2 separate regions of the Homo sapiens genome follow, and region 2 is linked to region 1. Evidence: promoter capture Hi-C in human tissues and cell types (Jung and others, 2019). All regions are on one chromosome and are shown on one strand. Each heading gives the region's core, a stretch centred on a gene start or on the middle of the fragment in contact. The rest is flanking DNA. Distances are from core to core; before and after follow the strand shown. Region 1 holds the start of PTP4A3 (protein tyrosine phosphatase 4A3). Region 2 overlaps DENND3 (DENN domain containing 3).

The links. Contacts are between HindIII fragments. The study calls those that stand out against the background at their distance.
Region 2: a contact is called between a fragment that was not itself captured here and the fragment with the promoter of PTP4A3 in region 1, in 1 of the 25 tissues and cell types used here (H1 embryonic stem cells).

Annotation. Positions count from the first base shown.
Region 1 is chr8:141,390,020-141,395,485 of GRCh38, forward strand. PTP4A3 (protein tyrosine phosphatase 4A3) reads left to right here and starts at 2,002. Exons shown (of 6, transcript NM_032611.3): 1 at 2,002-2,065. ASTILCS (antisense transcript of PTP4A3, liver carcinoma survival associated) reads right to left here and starts at 2,602. Exons shown (of 2, transcript NR_187488.1): 1 at 2,389-2,602; 2 at 1-1,132. RefSeq lists an enhancer at 1,074-1,694. The HindIII fragment of the contact is 9,767 bases long and covers 1-4,153 here.
Region 2 is chr8:141,184,008-141,189,473 of GRCh38, forward strand. It overlaps DENND3 (DENN domain containing 3), which reads left to right. Exons shown (of 23, transcript NM_001352890.3): 18 at 1,132-1,271; 19 at 4,979-5,139. Among named protein-coding and RNA genes, the nearest start is that of DENND3-AS1, 57 kb to the left of the region's middle. RefSeq lists an enhancer at 395-1,349. The HindIII fragment of the contact is 5,635 bases long and covers 1-5,201 here.

The DNA.
Region 1 (5,466 bases), core at 752-3,251:
GTGATCCTCCCACCTCAATCTCCAAGCTGGGACTATAGGAGCATGCCACCATGACTGGCTAATTTTTTATTTTTTGTAGAGATAGGGTCCCACTATGTTACCTAGGCTGGTCTTGAATTCCTAGGCTCAAGTGATCCTCCCGCCTCAGCCTCCCAAATTGCTGGGATTATAGTGTGAGTCACTGTGCCCGGCCTTAAGCTAAACATTTAAAAAATAAGAATTAAAATGCAGCCACAGTGAAACGGGAAGGGGCTGCTTTTACAGGTGCTGAACTTCCCGGCAATAGAAGCATTTAATGGGAGGTTCCCTTTTTCCTAGGACCTCAAAGCTGGAGTACCAGGGATGTTGCCTTGACCTTCCCATGTGTGGATTTCTGCTTGAACACACCAAGTACAGGACACCCTGTTTAGCAGCTAAACGTGGGAATTGCACCAGCTTTACTCCCAACTTGCTGGGCAATCTTCGGGAGTTGCTGACCTTCTCTGTGTCTCATCAGCAAAACAGGGAGAACACTAGCTCTCCCAACATGGGCTGTGTGAGGACCAAATGAGCTGAGGAGCCCAGATTTGAACCCGGGTCTGCAAGGTTATGTCCTCTGAGCCATCCCCACCCCTGCCCTTAAGGACCAGGGGCCTCTGGACACCATCAGCTTGCCCACCTGTCCAGGATTTGCACGCACCTGCTCGGTGCCAGATGCTGGGCACTGGGGACAAACCAGGTGAGGTGTGGACCGTGACCTGTGTTGTCACTGATTGGGGGACTTTCTGGCAGAGTGGAGAGTGCAGTGGGCTGAGAGACAGGATGGCCAGTGGAGACTGAGCTCTCAGAGGCGGCGGCAGCTGATGGGGACCATGCAATGGGAAGGATGGAGGCCCTGGGATAGTCTGCGGTGAACTTCCAGGCAGAAGGAACAGCAGGTGCAAAGGCCTTTAGCTGGGAAGGAAACTCTGGGTTGGAGGAATAGCTTGCAGGCGCTCTGAGAGAGGCTGGCAGCCAGGTGGCAGGGAGGCAGCCCAGTCAGGTGGTCTTGGGACAGTTTAGGGTCTCTGGCCTTCACCAGTGAGGTGGTGTCTGGAGACTTTTGCAGACGAAGGCAGCTCTCACTCCCATCTTCCCGGGGTCCCTCTGGCTGCTGAGGGTGGATGGGTGGAAAAGCATCTTTCAGGGAAGTGGAGGCAGGGCTGGAGCAGTTGAACATCTGACTGGGCCAAGGGTCCAGGGACTGGCATGGAACAGGGCTGGGTGGGTGAGGCCGCCTGGGAGACCCCAGCTTGCCTCTGTTTCCCCCTGTACTGGGGCCTCCTGCGTGAACCAGCACTGGTTTTTCCAGTAACTGGAGCCACAAGCCTCCCTAGGAACGGCTGACCCATAAGAGGACGTCCTCAAGGTCCCCAAGGGCTAGAGGCTGAGATGCCGCCTTCGCCTGGGCGGGCCTCGCAGCCTGGAGGCAGGCGGTGGTGCAGCTCGGGCAGGCCCCGTCCACACGCCTCCCCGCTCTTCTGAGCACCACGCGTCCCGTGGGCTCCCTACCCGTCCTGATAACACGGCGGTCCGGGGGCCTCGAAGCCGGTCTGACCCCAAGTACCCGGGCCAGGCGGCTGCCGTCTTGTCGCCCCAGCCCATCCCCTCAGCCAGCCCGCCTGGCGGCACGGGACCTAGCCCCAGTCGACTTAGGGGGAAACTGAGAACTCCAGAAGTTTCGTGAACTCCCTGGCTTCGTCCGCATCCCGCCCTCTGCCTCTTCGCTCGGGCTTCAAAACTGCCCCTCCGACGCCCGCCTGCCCCAGGCCGACCTGGCCTAGGCGCCCGGCAGGCACAGGAGCCAAGGTCAGTCCCCGAGGCCGCCCGCGCGACCGGAGCCGCCTCCTCCCAGCCCAGGGGCGGCCTCGGGGGCGGCGGGCGCGCGGCCGCGGCGTGGGGAGCGCTCCCATTGGGCCGTGCCCCCACGTGACCCAGCGGGTCCGGCGCGCGCCCTAAGCCGGTGGAGCCGCGGCCGCGCCTGTGCGCGAGGGCGCGCGCGTCCCGAGCCCTCCACCCGTCGTGCCGGCGCCGCCCGGACCGCCAGGTCAGTCTCCTCCGCGCCCGCTCGGGGCGGGGGCGCGCGGCGCTTTGTGGAGGCGCGTGGGGGGCCGTCCGCGCGCGAGCCCGCCGCCCGCTCCGGGCACGGCTTCGGGGCCGCGCAGCCGGGAGGGCCGCCGCCTTCCCCCTGCCCGCGCGTCCCGGGACCCTGCGCCTGGCGGCCGATCCGGCGGGAACGTGGGCCTGGAGGCTGCCACGTGCCGGGGCCGAGCCTCAGGAGGCCGCTGTTTCCCCAGGCGAGCCACAGAACACCCCTGGCTGGAAGGGGGTGACCCGCTCCCGTTTCTGGGTGCGCGGGAGACCTCCTACCCTGAGTTCATCCTGCGCAGGGTCCCGCCCAGGATCTGGCTCTGCCCCCATTCACGGCTCATTTTCCTCAGCTGCACAGTTTGGGGGGCTGGAACCCCACAGCCTTCCGTGCCTCCAGGGCGGGTCGTAGATGTCAGTGGAGGTCAGGGGAAAGCAGAGCGTCAGGTCTCAGGCCGGGTGGAGTCCGCCTCAGACCATACCAGTGTTGGGACTCGGGCGGCGCCTCAGCCCTCCAAGCACACCCCGGTAGAATCAGGTCAGCAGCCTTGATCCACGTGCCTCAGGGATTAAACGGGTGACTCCTGACACGCCCCTGGGCAGCTGGTGGCCCAGGGGTGGGGTGGTGGCATGCTTAGCTCCAAGTGGGCAGAGCAGTTTCACCCTGCCGGTTCCCGGAGGGAAGCCCTTTATGAGGGAGGCTTCCCTGGCCCTCTGTGATAGCGGCTCCAAGGGCAGCGTGAGGTCCAGGCTAGCTGGTCACAGTGTGTGCCCGGGCACCCTCAGCCAAGACAGAAAGGCACGTGCTGCACCCCCTCTCTCTGCCTGCGGGCTCTGGGGTGTGCCCCGCACACGATGGTGGGTGTTGGGCATCCACCTAGTCTGTGGACCCTGGGGGCCCTGCTCCCAGGTTGGAGCAGTGTCCTCGGCTGCAGACCAGAGGAGGTCACTGAACACAGGGTGCCTGTGGCCTTGCACAGACAGAAGCCGCCTGGCAGCCCTGTGCAGAGCCGTGCTTCACTGAGTTCCTGCAATCCTCCCAAGAAGTTCGTTAACCCCATTTCTCAGATGAGGAGACTGAGGCCCACAAAGGTGGAGTTGGTGCAGCCCCTAGCCTGCGGGGCTAAGCAGAGCCTTGTTGTCCCCATCTGCAAAGGGGGCGTTGGAGCTGCTGTAAATGGGCCCCGAACCTGTCACCTGAGTGGAATTAGGCATTGGGGATCTCCCCATCACCACGCCGGCCCCCCTCACTGTGGTTACGAAGGAGGAGAAGCTGCCCTGTGTAGGAATTCCTGGGCTGTTTCCAAATAGCCCCGCTAGGGAGCTGGTCACCCCTCAACACCCCCAACGTGTTCTCCAAGCACTTACTCTGTGCCAGGCCCAATGCTGGACCTGGAGATGGGGCATGGCTGGCTGGCTGAGCGGGGCAGGTTGCGGACAGGCCCCCGCAGGCAGTCGGCGTGATGGGAGAAAATGCAGGCGGGGATGAGATGCAGCCTCCAGGTGGTTTCCTCAGCTGCCTGCTCCTCTCTGCCTTTGCCCTCCTCCCGGAAGCTTGCGCTGACCACTGGAGTAAGGCTGGGGGCCTCAGCTGGTCCCCTCTCTGTCCCAAGTAACAGCCCAGAACATGGTGAGGGTGGCTGGCTGATGCAGTCAGGCACTGGACATGGGAGGCAGGAGGAAGGCCGGGAGGTGGGCAGCTTTCTCAGACAAGTGGGCAGTTTGGATGGCGAGGAGGTCTTGGAGGCACCATGGGTGGCTGGGCTCAAAGATGACATGAGGGCATGCTTAACAGATGCTTAACCAAATCCTGAATTGGCATTGGCCAATTTCTGTGGTGTAACTACTCCCAAGCTACACAGACGTGACTTTACTGGCTGAGGACTTGGGCAGAGGTGCACACAGTCAGACTGAGAGGGGGGCATAAGCTGGTGTGAGCCCTCCCTCTCACCGCCAGGGTGGGCAGAGTGTCCGCTGGTGCCCAATGCCTATGCACGTGACCTCCTTAGGGACTTACATCCAGATGGCGGTGATACAGCTTGGGGAGGCCTCTCCCTGGTTGGCAGGTCCTGGCGAAAGGGTGAGTTAAGTGGAAAGTGTACCAGGCTGGTGTCCAGGTGGCATTTGGCCAGAGGGGCTGAGCTGGGAGCTCCTGGGCCTGGGGCTGGCAGATAGTGGTGATTTTTCGCCCCCCAAGACCTTGGGCTTGCCTTGTTCCATGAAGGTCCCAAATCTGACCAAAGGCTGTAACCAGATGGTCACTGTCCCAGACCACCCCAGGGCGCTTTCTCACCTCGAGAGCACCGTTTCTCCCCACCTCCACCCTGGCCGCCCTTGCTGTCACCTACTCCCTCTGGTCCCTGGCACCCCTCCCTGCCTGCAGTGGTGTTTCCTAGCAAGTGCAGCAGCCCGAGGCTGGGCTAGAGGCAGGAGGGCCTGGCCTCCCAGTGTCTTGCTGGATACTTGGTTTCTTGCCCCTCCGTTTCCACACCTGTAAAATGGGAGCAATGACAGGTCTTCCTGGCAGGACAGTGGTGAAGCTTGGTCACACGGGTGAACATGTGTGAGGTAAAAAAGACTTCCCATCCCTCCTTCTGACCTGGACCGGCTCGCAGGACCCATAGGCAGGGACCTGGGCAAGGTCCGAGGGCCGATGAGCCCCGTCCTCTCTGCACAGTTCAGAGTTGGGTGGGAGTGGCTGTGGGCTGCAGGAGGAGGTACTGCACTTCGCACAGTTACGTGGTCGGGTTGGCATCGCCGCCGCCTGACTTCGGCGCCCCGCGAGTTGGGTGTGTGCGGTTGGGGGCGGCCCAGAGTGTGCCCCACGCCTGCCAGTCGGGTAGGCCAGCCTCCCTGGAGAGAGGGGGGCCTCCCCAAGGTGGGACGGGGACAGGGACGGGTGCTTCCTTCCACCCAGGAGCCTGAGCAGAGGGTGGAGGGTCCTGGCAGCTACCTACGGCAGCTGAGAGCTGCGCTCTTTAGCCGAGCGGGATCAGGGCTACGTGGACACAGCCCGTGCCAGTGTGGGTGGGGCACGAGCTGTGGGTTCCGATGGCCCAGTAGGCGTTCACCTGGCAGAGAGTGTGCGCGTGTCTCCCCTCCTTGGGGCGCCTCAGGTCAGGACCCTGAGAACCTCACTTATCCTTTGAGCTGCGCCAAGGCTGTTGTACAAAAGACAGTTCAGAAAATAAGGACAGGCTGTTCCTCCCAGCCAAGGGTGTGGCCCTAAGGACCCCTAGGTGGGGCATCGCTTCCCGCCAGGCACGTGCCACTCAGTCTTGGGCTGCTTTAGTGGCAGCCTCCTGGTTTGGAAGCGGAACTGAGGGTCAGGGATGACCACATGGCTCAGGGCTCAGCTGG
Region 2 (5,466 bases), core at 1,134-3,633, 210 kb before region 1:
GGAAGCCTCATCATCTCTGTCCCTCTCCTGGGCCTGCTTCTTGGGCTGTCTCAGAGGCTTCTTGCCATCTTCATGGCCGGACACGGCGCCTACAGCCTCTTCCCCAGACCCTGCCACAGGAAATGGACAGAAGACACTTTTGAGAGGGTGAAAATGTAAGCTGCAGACTGGGAAGGATCTTTAAAATGGGTGCTGCTAAAATCATTGCTTTTAATGTAGTCAGATTCACCAGTCTTTTGCTTTATGGTATTTTTATATGTCATACGTAATTTATGAATACAGCACCATGGAGTCAGTTAGGGGCTCATATCCAGAACACCGGAACAGCTGGCCGGGCGTGCCTGTGGTCCCAGTGAGGTGGGAGGGTGGCCAGAGCCCTGGACTCGGAGCCTGTGGTTTGCTGTGATCGCACCTGTGAACACTGCTGCACTCCAGCCCGGGCAACATGGCAAGACCTCGTCTATTAAAAAGTAAAAAAAAATAAAAATAAAAAAAAATAACAGCCACAAACTAGGGAGAACGAAAAACAGACACTTCCCACAAGAGGGCATGGGGATGGCCAGTTCAAGCCATCAGGCTCATTAGCAATTAGAGAAATGCAATTAAACCACAATTTAAAAGCCAAAAGCTCCACACCCTTAGAATGGCCGAAATTAAAAAGATGGACGGACGCCAGCAAGTGTTGGGAAAGACGCGGAGCCCGCTGCACATGAGGGTGTGGGGGGCACCATGGCCCCTGCCGCCGTCTCTCCAGCTGCCCTCCCTCCCTGCCTCCCTCCCTCTGTGTCCACCTGCTCCTCTTCCAGTTCCCTCTGCCTGGCTGTTTCCTCTAGTGAATGCTCACTCAGCTGGCAGGTCCTGGCTTAGCAAAGCTCACAGGCATTCGGCTCTGCATCTGCCTGCGGCTCTGACCCTGTCTTTGTGGCCCTCTCACCAGCCAGCTGCCCCCCTTGACTCTGAGCTCCCAGAGGGCAGGGAAGCCTCTGCCTGGGCACGTCTTTGTACGTACAGCACCTAACATGGGCCTGGCGCTTAGGAGGGCCCAGGAGGCACCTGAGTAAGGGCACCAGTCACCTGCTGCTACAGCAGAAGTGTTTCCTCCTAACAGTTTTGTGCTGCTCTCCTCTTTAGGGCATCTTGACCCAGCCGAAAAAGTTGAAGATGCTCACCCCAAGTTATGGTGTGCTCTGAGCGAAGGCAAGGTGACCGTGTTCAATGCTTCTTCATGGACCATCCACCAGCACTCCTTTAAAGTGGGCACTGCAAAAGTGGTGAGTACACGAAGCGTCAGGAAAGAAGCCTCTGAATTCACGTGATTTCTGAAACCCAAGTGTGTTCATCCATATTCGACAGTAGGATACAAGCTATTCCACAGCCTCACTCGGTTTCTGTAAACAGGGGGTCTTAACTTTCACCTGGAGTTTTCAAATTAAATGTAAGCTTGTTCCAAACTTCTACTTACACGTCCTTATTGAAGGAGAAGATAATGGCTTTGACTTTCTCATCTAAAAACAGATTTCAGGCCCCCATCTAAAAATAGATTGCAGGGGCTCACACCTCTAATCTCAGCACTTTGGGAGGCTGAGGTGGGTGGATTGCCTTGAGCCCAGGAGTTTGAGACCAGCCTGGGCAACAGAGTGAGACCCCATCTCTACAAAAACTACAAAAATTAGCCGGGCATGGTGGAGCGTGCCTGTAGTCCCAGTTACTTGGGAAGCTGAGGTGGTAGGATCGCTGAGCCTGGGAGGTCGAGGCTGCAGTGAGCCAAGATCGCGCCACTGCACTCCAGCCTGGGTGACAGAGCCATACCCTGTCTCAAACAGACAAATAATAATAATAATAAAATAATAAAAATCGACGTCAGTTCTGTGAAGTGGAGCCATTGTGGTCTCTGCCTGCTTATTACAGGCTTCACACACTTTGGGAACAATTTCCTTCTTTTTTTTCTTTTTTGAGACAGGGTCTTGCTCTGTTGCCCAGGCTGGAGTGCAGTGGTTCAGTCATGGCTCACTGCAGCCTCGACCTTCTGGGCTCAAGGGATCCACCTCGGTCTCCTGAGTAACTGGGACTACAGGTGCATGCTACCATGCCTGGCTAATTTTGTATTTTTTGTAGAGATGAGGTTTTGCCACGCTGCCCAGGCTGGGAACGATGTCTTCCATCCTGTACTGCAGCACTAAGGTTCCCAGGGACCAGGGCCTTAAAATGAACCTGCAGTGTTTCCTGGGAACCCTGGTGTTTCCTGGTGGCACAGTGGTTACTGGGTCTCTTTTGGAGCAAAAGAGGAGACAGCTGCCTCTGCAGTGACTTCAGTGTTATCCACCTGTCCCCACGTGCCAGGTGGCAGAGACCAGGGCCCAGCAAAACTCAGTGTCCACTCGTCACACATTATTCCTCTCACTTAGAGCAAGCTTGTCCAACCTGTGGCCTGCAGGCTGTACGTGGCCCAGGACGGCTTTGAATGAGGCCCAACACAAATTTGTAAACTTTCTTAAAACATATGTTGAGTTTTTTTTGCAATCTTTTTCCTTCTAGCTCATCAGCGATCGTTAATGTTAGTGTATTTTATGTGTGGCCCAAGACAATTCTTCTTCCACTGTGGCTCAGGGAAGCCACAAGAGTGCACACCCCTGATTTAAAGCAAGTTTGAATTGTTTCTGATAATTTTAAAACAAGTGCAACTGTTAATACATTTTTAGTAGTGTGTCCTTGGCAGTGCCATGGTGTGTCGCTTCTTCCATGACCATGGTATCTTGAGTGTGGAAGCTGGGATTCCTGCCCTGCTCATCCCTCCAGGCCCCCAGCGGCCCCTCCTGCCTGCAGACCATCATTTCTTGGGGATTTTCCCTGTTTGCCCGTCAGCGCTGTGAGCTGCCCCTCCCTGCGGATCTGTGTGCGCTTCCCTGTCGCCCGAGAGGCCGCTGAGTAGCTCCCCGTGCTCTGAGACCCCACACTCCCCCGCACCGTGGCCTGCGCGCCCTTTGTCCATGTTTCTCCTGTTCTTGCTCATGGATTTGCAGATGACGTTCACATTTAAATTGCATTTTATAGTTTTCAAAATATTTTCGCATCTACACTCTCCTCCTATCTGGTCACCCTCCAAGCAGCCACCCCATCATGGGATCTGCTGAGAAATCCTCATGCCTTACTCCTTGAGCATGATAGGATTTTTTTTTTTTTACATGTTTAATGTGAAAAGAACACTCCAGTGGAGTATATACCTAAGTATATATTAGGCATTGGCTGGTACCATTTTTTTTTTTTTGACAGGGTCCCTCTCCCATTGCCCGTGGCTGGAGTGTAGTGGCACAATCGCTGCTTACTGCAGCCTGGACCTCCCGAGTAGCTGGGGCTATATAGGTGCGCACCACCACACCCGGCTAATTTTTGTATTTTGAGTAGAGATGGGGTTTCACCGTGCTGCTCAGGCTGGTCTCAAACTCCTGGGCTCAAGCAGTCCTCCCGCCTCGGCCCCGCCAAAGTGCTGGGATTACAGGTGTGAGCCACTGCGCCCGGCCATGGTATCAGTTTTGATGGCTGTGTTCCCTTGTCTAAAAATAATGTGGGAAAATCCGTGGCACAGTATGTGCTTGCAAAACTGCTATAAAACAAATACTGTGAACTCAAATACATACCACCAAGAGGGTGGGACCACTCTTGAGATACCTGAATAGCAAACTTTACATGTTAGAAGGTAATAAGAGCCTGCTAAATCATTTCCCCCCATATTCAAATCATGAGCCTCAGATGATAAAGTAATAGGATCCATGATACAGTAAAAATATTGACAAAAGTCTAGTAATGCTTTAAACCAAACAACAAAAAAAGGAAAAATTAGGGAAATTATTTTTCTAAATTTAATTTTTTTCAGTTCGTTCTTAGTTATAAGCATTTCAAGGCTGGGCGCAGTGGCTCACGCCTGTAATCCCAGCACTTTGGGGGGCCGAAGCAGGAGGATTGCTTGAGTCTAGGAGTTCGAGACCAGCCTGGGCAACGTGGGGAAACCCTATCTCTACTAAAACTGCCAAACATCAGCCAGGCGTGGTGGCATCAGCCAGGCGTGGTGGCATCAGCCAGGCGTGGTGGCCCATGGCTGTAGTCCCGGCTACTCGGGGGTCTGAAGCGGGAGAATCGCTTGAGCCGGGAGGCTGAGGCTGCAGTGAGCCATGATCATGCCACTGCACTCCAGCCTGGGTGGCAGAGTGAGACTCTGTCTCAAAATAAACAAACAAACAAAAATAAAAATTCTGATTTCAAAGAGTCTAAAAGCAATCATTATGTTGACTTTGCTTAGCTTAGACAGAAACCCTGAGCGCACTCTCTAGACACTGGGAGCACTGCCAGTTCTGCTTGTTCACATACAGTCGGTCTCATCATTTGGAGATTCCGTATTTGCAAATTCGACCACCTGCTAATATTTACTTGTAACTCCCAAAACAGATACTCGTGGTATTTTCTTGGTGATCCACAGACATCCACGTGCACAGACGGGGGAAAAACTTGAGTCACCTGATATGGATTTTCTGGGCCAACAAGTGTCCTCTCCTCGGCCTGATTGGTGCCACAGTTTTCACATTTTTTGCTTTTCGTTGGTGATTTTGCCATTTAAGAAAGCCTCAAGCATGGAGCTCCCTAAGCACAAGGAGGCGGTGACGTGTCTTGCAGAGAAAATGCATGTGTGAGATGAGCTTGGTTCAGGCCGCAGTGACAGTGCTGGCGGCCGTGGGTTTCGTGTTAATGAATCAATCATACGTAGTCAATAAGGTGTCTGTGAACAGAGCACGCGGAGAACAAGGTTATGCACTGATGGGTGGATGACAACGTCAGGGCCAGAGGCTCCCAGGACCCTGAGCCGGCGTGTCCCCTAGGAGCAGTGGTTCCATATCCGCTAATTCAGCACGTGCAGTAAATGTATAGAATATGACTTCACCAGTATCGAGACTGACTGATTTCTCACGTTCCCGTGGCCTCCTGTTAGAACTGCATGGTGATGGCCGACCAGAACCAGGTGTGGGTTGGCTCGGAAGACTCCGTCATCTACATCATCAACGTCCACAGCATGTCCTGCAACAAGCAGCTCACAGCCCACTGCTCCAGTGTCACGGATTTGATTGTGCAGGACGGACAGGAGGCACCCAGGTGCAGTAAGCTCTGCTGGGGAGAAGGGACTGTTTGGCTTGTGGGTGGGCAGAAGGCACAGCGGGTAGGGTTCCCAAGTCTTGTGCCCACAGGGGCCAGGCGGGGCGTACAGAGTGAAGTGGATCTAGAACGAGGAAAGCTGGGTGGTGTCCTCGGTCTGCTTCTGCTCACGGGTGCGGAGAACCCATGACACCAGTGTGGGCCAAGCGTGGTGATGAAGGCACCACACCCGGCCTTCCTGCTGAGCTTGCTGTGGGCACTGTGGCATGGGGCAGCCCCGAGAGGGCACAGCCTCCCAGAGGTGCACCAGCCATGGTGTCAGAAGCC